2 separate regions of the Homo sapiens genome follow, and region 1 is linked to region 2. Evidence: promoter capture Hi-C in 16 types of primary human blood cells and fetal thymus (Javierre and others, 2016). All regions are on one chromosome and are shown on one strand. Each heading gives the region's core, a stretch centred on a gene start or on the middle of the fragment in contact. The rest is flanking DNA. Distances are from core to core; before and after follow the strand shown. Region 1 overlaps PHF12 (PHD finger protein 12). Region 2 holds the start of FAM222B (family with sequence similarity 222 member B).

The links. Contacts are between HindIII fragments. The CHiCAGO score rates a contact against its expected background, and 5 or more counts as called.
Region 1: a contact is called between a fragment that was not itself captured here and the fragment with the promoter of FAM222B in region 2, in 5 of 17 cell types (erythroblasts, naive CD8 T cells, activated CD4 T cells and 2 more). The highest score is 9.6, in erythroblasts.

What each region holds. Positions count from the first base shown.
Region 1 is chr17:28,908,014-28,913,713 of GRCh38, reverse strand. PHF12 (PHD finger protein 12) reads left to right here. Exons shown (of 15, transcript NM_001033561.2): 9 at 437-1,232; 10 at 2,477-2,602; 11 at 3,345-3,488; 12 at 4,833-4,931. Among named protein-coding and RNA genes, the nearest start is that of DHRS13, 7.8 kb to the right of the region's middle. RefSeq lists a silencer at 4,689-4,983. The HindIII fragment of the contact is 5,109 bases long and covers 1,439-5,700 here.
Region 2 is chr17:28,839,977-28,845,666 of GRCh38, reverse strand. FAM222B (family with sequence similarity 222 member B) reads left to right here and starts at 2,877. Exons shown (of 3, transcript NM_001077498.3): 1 at 2,877-2,985. RefSeq lists a silencer at 2,909-3,098 and an enhancer at 2,784-3,298. The HindIII fragment of the contact is 18,789 bases long and covers 1-5,690 here.

The sequences.
Region 1 (5,700 bases), core at 2,744-5,243, 67 kb before region 2:
AAGGCAAGTAAGAGATCTACAAAGGCAACTGGTCTGCTTCTCTCCATCGTTACCCCAGTGCACTGTGAGATGGGCAAATCTATACTGTAGAAAGAGATGAGTAGACCCATAGAGAGGTTAGGTGATAGTGCTGGACATACCACAGGTGCTCGGGGTAATTGCTGAATATTGGTCACAAGTAAGCCTTAAAGGCAGAGTCAAAATGCAGATCCCAAGCTCTGTTGGCCAGAGGGAGTGTTGGCCTGCTGAGGGTACCTATAAGTCTTGCTTGGGAATGGAAATGGAATTCTATCAGGAGTCAAGCACACCCTTTGTGAGCATTCATGATGGGACCTCGGAAACTGCTTGTCAGCTCTGCTGCAGCCCTGGCCACTGTGGCAGGAAGGACCGGCGCCTCTCAGGCTTCTCACCCCCCTCTCCTCTCCTTCCATTGCAGTGGCTCTGTAGTGTTGTTGCGCTCCAGTGCAGCATATTGAAACATTTATCTGCTAAGCAGATGCCTTCGCATTGGGACTCTGAACAGACAGAGAAGGCTGATATTAAGCCTGTTATTGTGACTGACAGCTCAGTCACCACCTCCCTGCAAACAGCTGACAAGACACCTACACCTTCCCACTACCCCTTGTCCTGCCCCTCAGGGATTAGCACCCAGAATTCCCTGAGCTGCTCTCCACCCCACCAGTCCCCAGCCCTAGAGGACATCGGCTGCAGTTCTTGTGCGGAAAAATCCAAGAAAACCCCTTGTGGGACTGCCAATGGGCCAGTGAACACAGAGGTGAAAGCTAATGGCCCACACCTCTACAGCAGCCCTACTGATTCCACGGACCCCCGGCGACTTCCAGGCGCTAACACCCCACTACCAGGCCTCTCACACCGGCAAGGCTGGCCCCGGCCCCTCACGCCACCAGCGGCTGGGGGCCTTCAGAACCACACCGTCGGCATCATTGTGAAGACAGAGAATGCCACTGGCCCCAGCTCTTGCCCCCAGAGGAGTTTGGTTCCTGTCCCAAGCCTGCCCCCTTCCATTCCCAGCTCTTGTGCCAGCATCGAGAACACCAGCACTTTGCAAAGAAAGACTGTCCAATCACAGATAGGACCTCCGTTGACAGATTCAAGGCCACTGGGCTCACCCCCAAACGCCACCCGGGTGCTCACTCCCCCGCAAGCAGCAGGAGATGGTATCTTGGCCACAACAGCCAACCAACGATTCAGCTCACCAGCGCCATCGTCAGGTGAGTGCTGCTCAGCCTTGGGTTGATTTGGAATAATTTTATGCTCTTTCTGGCAAATAAGATTCTAAAAGCACTTATATCCCTGTGAATACTTCAGAGGACTTTGGCCTTTGTATTGTTTGTCTTACTCTCATTTCCGTAATAGAAGAGGAAGCACATGTTAACTTGTCCCGTTTATAAATGGGACTGCTTAGGCTCTGAAAGCTTCAGTGATTTCCTTAAAATGACCTACTGAGTCAGTGGCAGGATTGGAACCACAGCCCAGGTCTCCTGACTCCATCCCATACCTTCCAGGCCTAGGCCTCTGCCTGTTTTGTTCTGTCACCTTAAAAGAAGGCAGGGTGCTCTCTGGAATTACTATGATCAGCCTGAGGTTCTGCGTGATGGCCTCAGTATTGTCAGATCCACACAAAAGAATGGATTCATGCCTGATGCATATTCTCAGAAAGAGTTAATCTGATGAACTTCCATGTCAGGAAGCAGGGCTAGACAGCAGCACTGTCTTTCAGAGGAGCTGTAGAGTGGGATGCCCACAGGGATTGTTCTAGCCCAGAAGCGTGCCCTCAGGCCACATGCCAAAGGGCGGTCCTTCAGGTCTGTACTTGGCCTACTGTGGACCTGCTCTCTCAGCTGTCCCCAGAGAGCACTCAGGACCTTGAAGTTGCTGACCCCAGCATCTGAACCAGGTTTCAGATGCTGCCGGAACCCTCTGTGGTCTCTCCCGTCTGAACTGAAGCCGGCCTCCTAGTCAGCTGGGAGTCTCGGTAACCAGATGATTGTGATTTCTCTGCATGGGAGCCCCTGGTCCCAGGATGGCCCCGCTCCCAGGCTGTTTTCCTATCTCTGTTTATCGCTTAAAACCAGCGTGGGTAGATTCTCCACGCCGTGAGTCATATTTCAGTAGGCAAGAATTATAAGGGCAGGCACTACTTATTTTAAAGTAGAGGCAGCAGGGAGGTGGTCATGGCCCAAAGAATGAAGCTGCCCCACCACTTTCCCCAGAGCAGTGGATTTCAGTGGTTCTCAGTGCTCTGGAGACTCCTGCGTGCCTGGGTGCTTTGTCGTTCCATCTGCCCTTCCTCACCACACGTTTTTAGCTCTAGGAGTTCCAGAGCCTATGGGTTGAGAATCAAGAAGGGAACATCACCTTGGGTCCGAAATCCAGACCTGTCTCAGCAGTGGGGGATTGGACGGTGGGTTTCCCTCAGGCGACGTAAGTAACAGTCTTCCTGCTCCGTCCCCAGATGGCAAGGTCAGCCCCGGCACGTTATCCATAGGAAGCGCTTTAACCGTACCCTCTTTCCCAGCCAACTCTACTGCCATGGTGGACCTCACCAACTCACTTCGAGCATTTATGGATGTCAATGGAGGTGAGTGAATGAGCTGCTGCTGTTCCACCGTTTGCTATGTTGAAGGTGCTATTCCTATACAGCATTCAGCTCATTTCAGAAAGGGAGGGAAGGGACACCTGATCCCAGAGGCCTAGGGGGAGATGGGAATGAGGAGTATCCTTTTGGATGGGGGGGCGGGGTGAAAAAGAAAGCTCCTTCTGTAGCTCTGCCTTCTACATGTGCATATACACATAATCAAAGATGAAGGGAGGACAGAGCCAAGCTGAACCAGTGAGACGAGAACAAAATCACTTTAGGCAGATCACCTGGATTTGCAGAATAAAACTAAGATCCTCACTCCCAAAGGAGGGACCTCATCTGTGGGAAACCCCCAAAGTCCAGGAGAACAGGGACAGATCTTGATCTCTGTGAACACAAGGTGGGTAGAAAGTTCAAGTCTCAATATCAGACATCCAGGCCCTCCCCCACAGACAGGCAAGTGGTTTATTCCACTCTGCCTTTCTAGGGGCACTTTAATTAAAATCAGTCCACCCAACTACAGGAGGCAGCTGCACAGGCTGCATTGGGGCCCATCTCACTGCAAATGGCAAGTGAGATGCCCAGCTGCAGATCCTTGTACGCTCTGCACTCAATGCTGTTTGAGTAAAAATCACTTGGCTGGATTTTAGAAATGCCAAACTATTTGCTCTGTGACCCTGATTTGCTTCCACATTCCACTTCCCATCTCAGCTGCTTTTTAATCTTTCTCTTTGGCTAATAGAAATCGAGATAAATATGCTGGACGAGAAGCTGATCAAGTTTCTGGCCTTGCAGAGAATACATCAGCTTTTCCCCTCCCGGGTCCAACCTTCACCGGGCAGTGTCGGGACACATCAGCTGGCTTCTGGAGGGCACCACATAGAAGGTGCGCATGTACACACCTGTCACCACATCATCAGATCTCCCCTCTACGTGTGCGAATGGTCACCTTGCCTCCATGGAGAATCTGAGCTTCCAGTATCTCAAACCTCCTTGTGTGCTTTTCATGGGCTTAATAAAGCACCATGGTTTTTTTCTGAAGAGAGCAGGAACAAGATGGCAACCACAGCTTTCTGATCAGACTTGGGGAAGTCTGCTGTAACTTTCTTTCATATATAAGTCCACTTCGAGACACAGCAAAGCAGCTACCAGTACCTTTGGGTATATGTAGTGTACTTTCTGCTTACTTGCTTTCAAATATTTGAATTAGAAGGGCTTCCCGACTGAGTGCAGTGGCTCACACCTGTAATCCCAGCACTTTGGGAGGCTGAGGCGGGAGGATCACTTGAGCCCAGGAGTTGGAGACCAGCCTGGGCAACACAGTGAGACCCTATCTCTACAAATAATTTTAAACTTACCCAGGCATGGTGGCATACACCTGTAATCCCAGCTGCTTGGAAGGCTAAGATGGGAGGATCGCTTGAGTCTGGGAGGTCAAGGCTGCAGTGAGCTATGATTGTGCCACTGCACTCCAGCCTGGGTGACAGAGTGAGACCCTGTCTCCAAATAAATAAGTAAATAAATAAATAAAATTTTAAAAAGAATGGCTTCCCAAGAGGGAACTTTTCAAGTTCAAGTTGAGAAATAGAATAACACTAGGCCAACCTTCTGGAAATTTTCCCCAAGTGGTTAACTCTGTTTCAGATATGTCTGAGCATTGGCCATTAAGAGCCTTGCTGCTTCAAAGTGTGGTTCGCAGACCAGCAGCATCAGCAGCCCCTGAGAGCTTGTTAGAAATGCAGAGCTCAATGCATTGGTTTTTTGCCTATTTTTAAAGAAAACAGCAAAAGAAATGCAGAGCTAAGGCCCCTCCTCAGACCTATTGAATCAGAATCTGCATTTCAACAAGATCTGTAGGCGATTCTTATGCACATTAAAGTTTGAGAAACACTGGTCCATGCCGTCTGTTTTTCCATATTCTCCCTATAGTACCAGCTGGAATATCCCGGATTAGCCAGCCAGGAGCCCAGGAACTTACACAGTACTGTCATCTCTGACTTCTCTGACCATCTTCAAAGATGGTCCTCTGTACCCTGTGTTGGAAATGCTGTGGGTGGGGAGAGAAAGCCTTACCCTGCCGCAGCTCAGTGTTGGATGTGAGTTTGGAAAGATGAGTCATCCAGCGGGATTTTCTCCAGGCCATGAGCCAAAGGTCCAGATTTTGTTGGTTTATGTTTGGATCACAGGATCTGAGTTTCTGAATGATCCTATTCCTATGTTTGTCTTGTAGTGCAAAGAAAGGAGGTACAGGCCCGAGCTGTGTTCTACCCCCTCTTAGGGTTGGGAGGAGCTGTGAACATGTGCTATCGAACCCTCTACATCGGGACAGGTGAGCCAGCCAGGAAGCTGGGAGAGACACTGAATCTGTTCAGCCCTAAAGACTGACACCCTTACCCACAGAAGTTAGAAAGGGGTGAGGGAAGCCCTTTCCAGAGTTGACTGCTTTAAATCAGTGGATAGCTAGACAAGAGAAACTAAGAATAGAGACAATCAGCCAGTCACGGTGGCTCACGCCTATAATCCCAACACTTTGGGAGGACAAGGCAGGAGGAACACTTGAGCCCAGGACTTCGAGACCAGCCTGGGCAACATGGTGAAACCCTATCTCTACCAAAAACAAATATAAAAAATTAGCTGGGCTAACATGCCTATAGTCCCAGCTACTTGGGAGGCTGAGGTGGGAAGATCACCTGAGGCTGGGAGGTCCAGGCAGTGATCCTTTTTGTGCCTCTGCACTCCAGCCCAGGCAACAGAGTGAGACCCTGTCTCAAAAATAAAAGAGACAATCAGTTCCTTGTCTTCCCTTGTTCAGGCCCTTTTGCTTTGTCTTTGCCCAGTGTTGCAACAGCAGAGATGAAAGTCAGCTCTGACTACTGCCCAGGGAGGCACTTTAAACACTGCAGGGAAGAACCTAAGGAGAAGGCAGATGCTTTGTCCCTGGTGGTCTTTGAAAGAGTGATAGACTCACACATACCCAATCTTCAGTTAGCCCTGTATCTGTTTTTTGTTTTGTTTTGTTTTCCCTAAAAGTCCTAGAGACCGATAGCTCTGTATCTGGTACAGAAGGACAGACAGATTAGCCCTTACCCTAGAAACTT
Region 2 (5,690 bases), core at 1,628-4,127:
ACCTCGGCTTCCCAAAGTGCTGGGATTACAGGTGTGACCCACTGTGCCTGGCCTATTTATTTATTTTTTCTTTTTTTCCTTTTTTTTTTGAGACAGAGTCTCGCTCTGTCGCCAAGGCTGGAGTGCAGTGGCGCGATCTCGGCTCACTGCAAGCTCCGCTTCCCAGTTCATGCCATTCTCCTGCCTCGGCCTCCCGTGTAGCTGGGACTACAGGCGCCCACCACCACGCCCAGCCAATTTTTTTGTATTTTTGTATTTTTTTTTTTTGAGATGGAGTCTCGCTCTGTCCCCAGGCTGGAGTGCAGTGGCACCGTCTTGGCTCACTGCAAGCTCTGCCTCCGGGCTTCACGCCATTCTCCCGCCTCAGCCTCCCAAGTAGCTGGGACTGCAGGGGCCCGCCACCATGCCCGGCTAATTTTTTATATTTTTAGTAGAGATGAGGTTTCACCGTGTTAGCCAGGATGGTCTCGATTTCCTGACCTCGTGATCCGCCCACCTCGACCTCCCAAAGTGCTGGGATTACAGGCCTGAGCCACCGCGCCCGGCCCTATTTATTTTTTTAATTGAGATGGAGTCTCACTCTGTTATCCAGGCTGGAGTGCAGTGGTGCGATCTCGGCTCATTGTAACCTCCGTTCCTGGGTTCAAGCGATTTTCCTGCCTCAGCCTCCTGAGTAGCTGGGACTACAGGTGCATGCCACCATGCCCAGATAATTTTTGTATTTTTTCAGTAGAGACAGGGTTTCACCGTGTTGGCCAGGCTGGTCTCGAATTCCTGGCTTCAAGTGATCCGCCCGCCTTAACCTCCCAAAGTGCTGGGTTTACAGGCATGAGCTATCTTGCCTGGCCACTATTTTTTAGATTTTTTGTAGAGATGAGTCTCCCTATGTTGCCCAGGCTGGTCTCTAACTCCTGGGCTCAAGCAATCCTCCCAACCTGGCCTCCCAAAATGTTGGGATTACAAGCATAAGTCACTATGCCCAGCTTTATTTTTAATTTTTTTTTCTTTTGAGACGGAGTCTCGCTCTGTCGCCCAGGCTGGAATGCAGTGGCTTGATCTCGGCTCACTGCAAGCTCCGCCTCCCGGGTTCACGCCATTCTCTTGCCTCAGCCTCCTGAGTAGCTGGGACTACAGGCGCCCGCCACCACGCCCGGCTAATTTTTTGTATTTTTAGTGAGACGGGGTTTCACCGTGTTAGCCAGGATGGTCTCGATCTCCTGACCTCATGATCCGCCCGCCTCGGCCTCCCAAAGTGCTGGGATTACAGGCGTGAGCCACTGCACCTGGCCTATTTAAATTTTTTTAACATTCCTCATTGAGCACTCAACTTGTCTTTTTTTCTTCTCTTTTTCCCCCTTACGTTGTATCTTGGGCCTTATGTGTCCAAACTCTGAAGAGAGGAGACCAGCGCTGGAGTTGAGAGAGAAAAAAGAGCCATGGTGATGAGGAGAGAGTTTAGTCCTGTACCTCCTCTTGCCTGCTGCTTTCAAGTCTGTTTTGTTGAATTCTCAGGACTCGATTGAGCTTAGTCTCTTGTCAGGCTATGCCAAAGCAGCACAGTAGTCTAGGGACTGACAGTTGGGCCTCACTGGACTTTAGTGGTTTTCTTTTACCAGTTTGAAAAAGGGCCAGGCTCACAGTGAGAGCTGGAAAGCAGGGGACTATTTGCCTGCGAATTCCTCAATAGCATACACGCGATGCCTAGAACATTTCTGTCCAATAAACAGCATGTGCTTGATAAACATACTGAACTTAGCGGTGTCCCCAGTGCATTCTAGGCGAGGTCACCTCCTTGACAAGGTCCCCAGGACTTCATTGCACCTCCTAGCTAGTAGCGTATTCTAGGATGGCAAAGCTGCCTTTACATAATTACCCCCGATACATTCTAGACACGATCATCTTGAAAGAGACCCAAATTTTACCAGGCATGGTGACTCAGGCCTGTAATCCCAGCACTTTGGGAGGCCGGGGCGGGCGAATCATCTGAGGTCAGGAGTTCGAGACCAGCCTGGCCAACATGGTGAAACCCCGTCTCTACTAAAAATACAAAAGTTAGCCAGGCGTGGTGGTGCAAGCCTGTAATCCCAGCTAGTCAGGAGGCTGAGGCAGGAGAATCGTTTGAACCCGGGAGGCGGAGGTTGCAGTGAGCTGAGATCGCGCCACTGCACTCCAGCCTGGGCAACAAGAGCAAAACTCCGTCTCAAAAAAAAAAAAAAAAAAAAAAGACCCAGGCTGGGCGCGGTGGCTCATGCTTGTAATCCCAGCGCTTTAGAAGGCTGAGGTGGGTGGATCACCTGAGGTCGGGAGTTCGAGACCAGCCTGACCAACATGATAAAACCCCGTCTCTACTAAAAATACAAAATTAGCTGGGCGTGGTGGTGCATGCCTGTAATCCCAGCTACTCGGGAGGCTGAGGCAGGAGAATCGCTTGAACCCGGGAGGCGGAGGTTGTTTGAGCCGAGATCACGCCATTGCACTCCAACCTGGACAACAAGAGCGAAACTTCGACTCAGAAAAAAAAAAAAAAAGACCCAAATTTATCATCAGTGGTCACCTCAGAGCACCTGAATTCAGGCCTTTAAGTGCAAGTAGGATGCAGAATTCTGGAAGAGCCAGTAAGTCTGTGGCTCCTTGGGGAAGCGCGATCCAAGGGTTTAGTAACCTAGGCACGGTACTCCAGAGGCGTACCCTGAGGCAGCCGCCAAATTCTCTAAGCCTCAGAATTCTTCAAGGCCAGCTCCCATGTCCACTAGAGACCCAGGGGTCCAGACCATCAGGCACTGAGGAAGACGCCCCCGGCAGGGGCTGCGCAGGCGCGTGCGGCCCGAAAGGGCCCAGGCGCTACACGCTGCGCAGGCGCAGGAGCGGCTCCGGGTAGTCCCCACAGCTGCGCCGGTGACTGAGGGGCCGGGCAGTGGAGAAGTGGTGGCGGCGGGCGGCGGGCGGCAAAGGAGCAGCCATGAGGGCCGGGCCCAGTCACCGACCGTGAGTAGTGGTGGAGGGGGAGTGGACAACGCGTGGGAAGAGGGTAACTTAGCGGAAGGATACATGACTTTGTGGGGTGGGCTCTGACTGTGGGAGACGGAAGGGCGTGGGGGAGGTACAGTTTGAGGTGATGATGGGAGAATTTGGGGCACGGGTGGCCCGGTCGCCGGCCGCAGAGCTGGACAGCTTGGTGGAGGGGGACGGGGTTGCGTGCTGTGGAGTGAAGCAGCCCATTTGTATCATCCCTTCCTCCAGGAGCTTTTGGTCGCCTCTCCTTTCCGCTTCTTTCAGAGAATGATTGCGGGGGGAGGGTGGTGGAGGATGAAAGCTCTGCTGGAGCTTAAGAAGCCACCTCTGAACCAGGCAGGGGAAGGGTCGGTCTCCCGGAGTAATAGGCTGCTCTGGGTAGAGGATGGGAGTCGGGAACCCTCTTTTGAAAGCCGGGAGGGGTCTAGGGAAAAGAGCTAGGGGCTTAGAGTCAGGCAGGTTCGAAAGGAAGTCCACCATTGATAAAGCTGTTAGGTAACCTTGGGCAGGTCCCACTTAACCTTTCTGAACACCAGGAAGATGTCATGCTTCAAACGGGCTATTGCAAGCATCACCTATGTAATTGAGATTGTTTATGCAAATTGTGAATTGTAAGTACTATGTTGATGTTAATGTATCACCAACAATGTTAGTGGAATTTAGACCTTACCGTTGTTAATGGAATGACTGATTTCTCTGTTAAGATAAGAAGCGTATTGTTTGTAAAACCTCAGTAGACACATATGTGCTTTCTTTATGGGCACAGCAGACCATGTGCAGAACTACCAGTTCTGTAATGTGATAAATTAGCCATCAGACTTCTGTAGGAAAAATACCGTACTCCGGCGTTTTTACAAACGGTTTGCAGCTCCTCACCCGAAAGGATGGAGGGCCAATCTATTAAAATATTTTCTGAACATAGCTAACTCATGTTGCCTTATAACACAGTTGGCACTAATGTGCTTTAACGAGTTGAGAAAAGGCCGGGTGCAGTGGCTCATGTCTGTAATCCCAGCACTTTGGGAGGCCGAGGCGGGCGGATCACGAGGTCAGAAGTTGGAGACCAGCCTAGCCAACGTAGTGAAATCCCGTCTCTACTAAAAATACAAAAAATCAGCCGGGTGTGGTGGCGGGCGCCTGTAATCCCAGCTGCTTGGGAAGCTGAGGCAGGGGAATCACTCGAACCCGGGAGGCAGAGGTTGCGGTGAGCCGAGATAGTGCTATTGCACTCCAGTTCGGGTGACAGTGCGAGACTCCGTCTGGAAAAAAGAGTTAAGAAAACTAGTTTGAGACAAGCTGGGAGGGCTGCCCAGTGAGGGATGTGAAAATATAATTTGTTTATTATATTTTATTTTATTTTTGAGACGGAGTCTCGCTCTGTCGCCAGGCAGGAGTGCAGTGGCATCATCTCGGCTCACAGCAACCTCCGCCTCCCGGGTTCAAGCGATTCTCCTGTCTCAGCCTCCTGAGTAGCTGGGATTACAAATGCCCACCACCACGCCTGGCTAATTTTTGTAGTTTTAGTAGAGATGGGGTTTCACCATGTTGGCCAGGCTGGTCTTGAACTCCTCACGTCAGGTGATCCACCCACCTCGGCCTCTCAAAGTGCCGGGATTACAGGCGTGAGCCACCGTGCCTGGCTATTTTGTTATCTTTATTTTTATTTTATTTTATTATAATTTTTTTTGAGGTGGGTGAAGGAGTCTTGCTCTGTCACCCAGGCTGGAGTGCAGTGGTGCGAACTTGGTTCACTGCAACCTCCGCCTCCTGGGTTCAAGCAATTCTCCTGCCTCAGCCTCCCTAGTACCTGGGATTATAGGCACGTGCCACCATACCCGGCTAATTTTTGTATTTTTTTTAGTACACTCGGGGTTTCTCCATTGCTGGACAGGCTGGTCTCAAACTTCTGACCTCAGGTGATCCGCCCGCCCCAGCCTCCCAAAGTGCTGGGATTACAGGCGTGAACCACCGTGCTTGGCCCATTTTATTATTTTTAAATTATAAAAAGTTCTCCTTTGCAAAGGAGTCTCTGGCTGCTCCGGGGACCTGTCGCTGTTTTGGAGGTCAGATATGCATAAGGCAGCCCTCTAGCTCTGCTTTTTGTTACCCTGCTTGTCAGTGGGATCTCTCAGGTGGAATATCTCAGAAGAGGAGCCCAAGAGGTGTCTTGGTTTTCCTGAGAGGCTGAAGAAACACTCCTGAGACGTGTTTTTTAATGTAGACAAAGCAGAGGACAAACTATGTGTTTATGGAAAGAGAAAATGGGTTCTTTTTATTTTATTTTGTTTTGACACAGAGTCTTGTTCTGTCGCCCAGGCTGGAGTGCAGTAGCGCAATCTCGGCTCATTGCAACCTCCACCTCCCGGGTTCAAGCAGTTCTCCTGCCTCAGCCTCCAAGTAGTTGCGATTACAGGCACCCACCACCATGCCCGGCTAGTTTTTGTATTTTTAGTAGAGATGGGGTTTCGCCATTTTGGTCAGGCTGGTTTCGAACCAGGTGATCCGCCTGCCTCGGCCTCCCAAAGTGCTGGGATCACAGGCGTAAGCCACCAAGCGCAGTGAGAAAATGGTTTCTAAAGTAGAGATGCAGACTCCTTTTAAAAGGACATAGACACTTCAGCTTTGCTGACTCTGAGGATTGAGACCTTAAACTGTCAAGGCGTTTTGGCAATTGATGA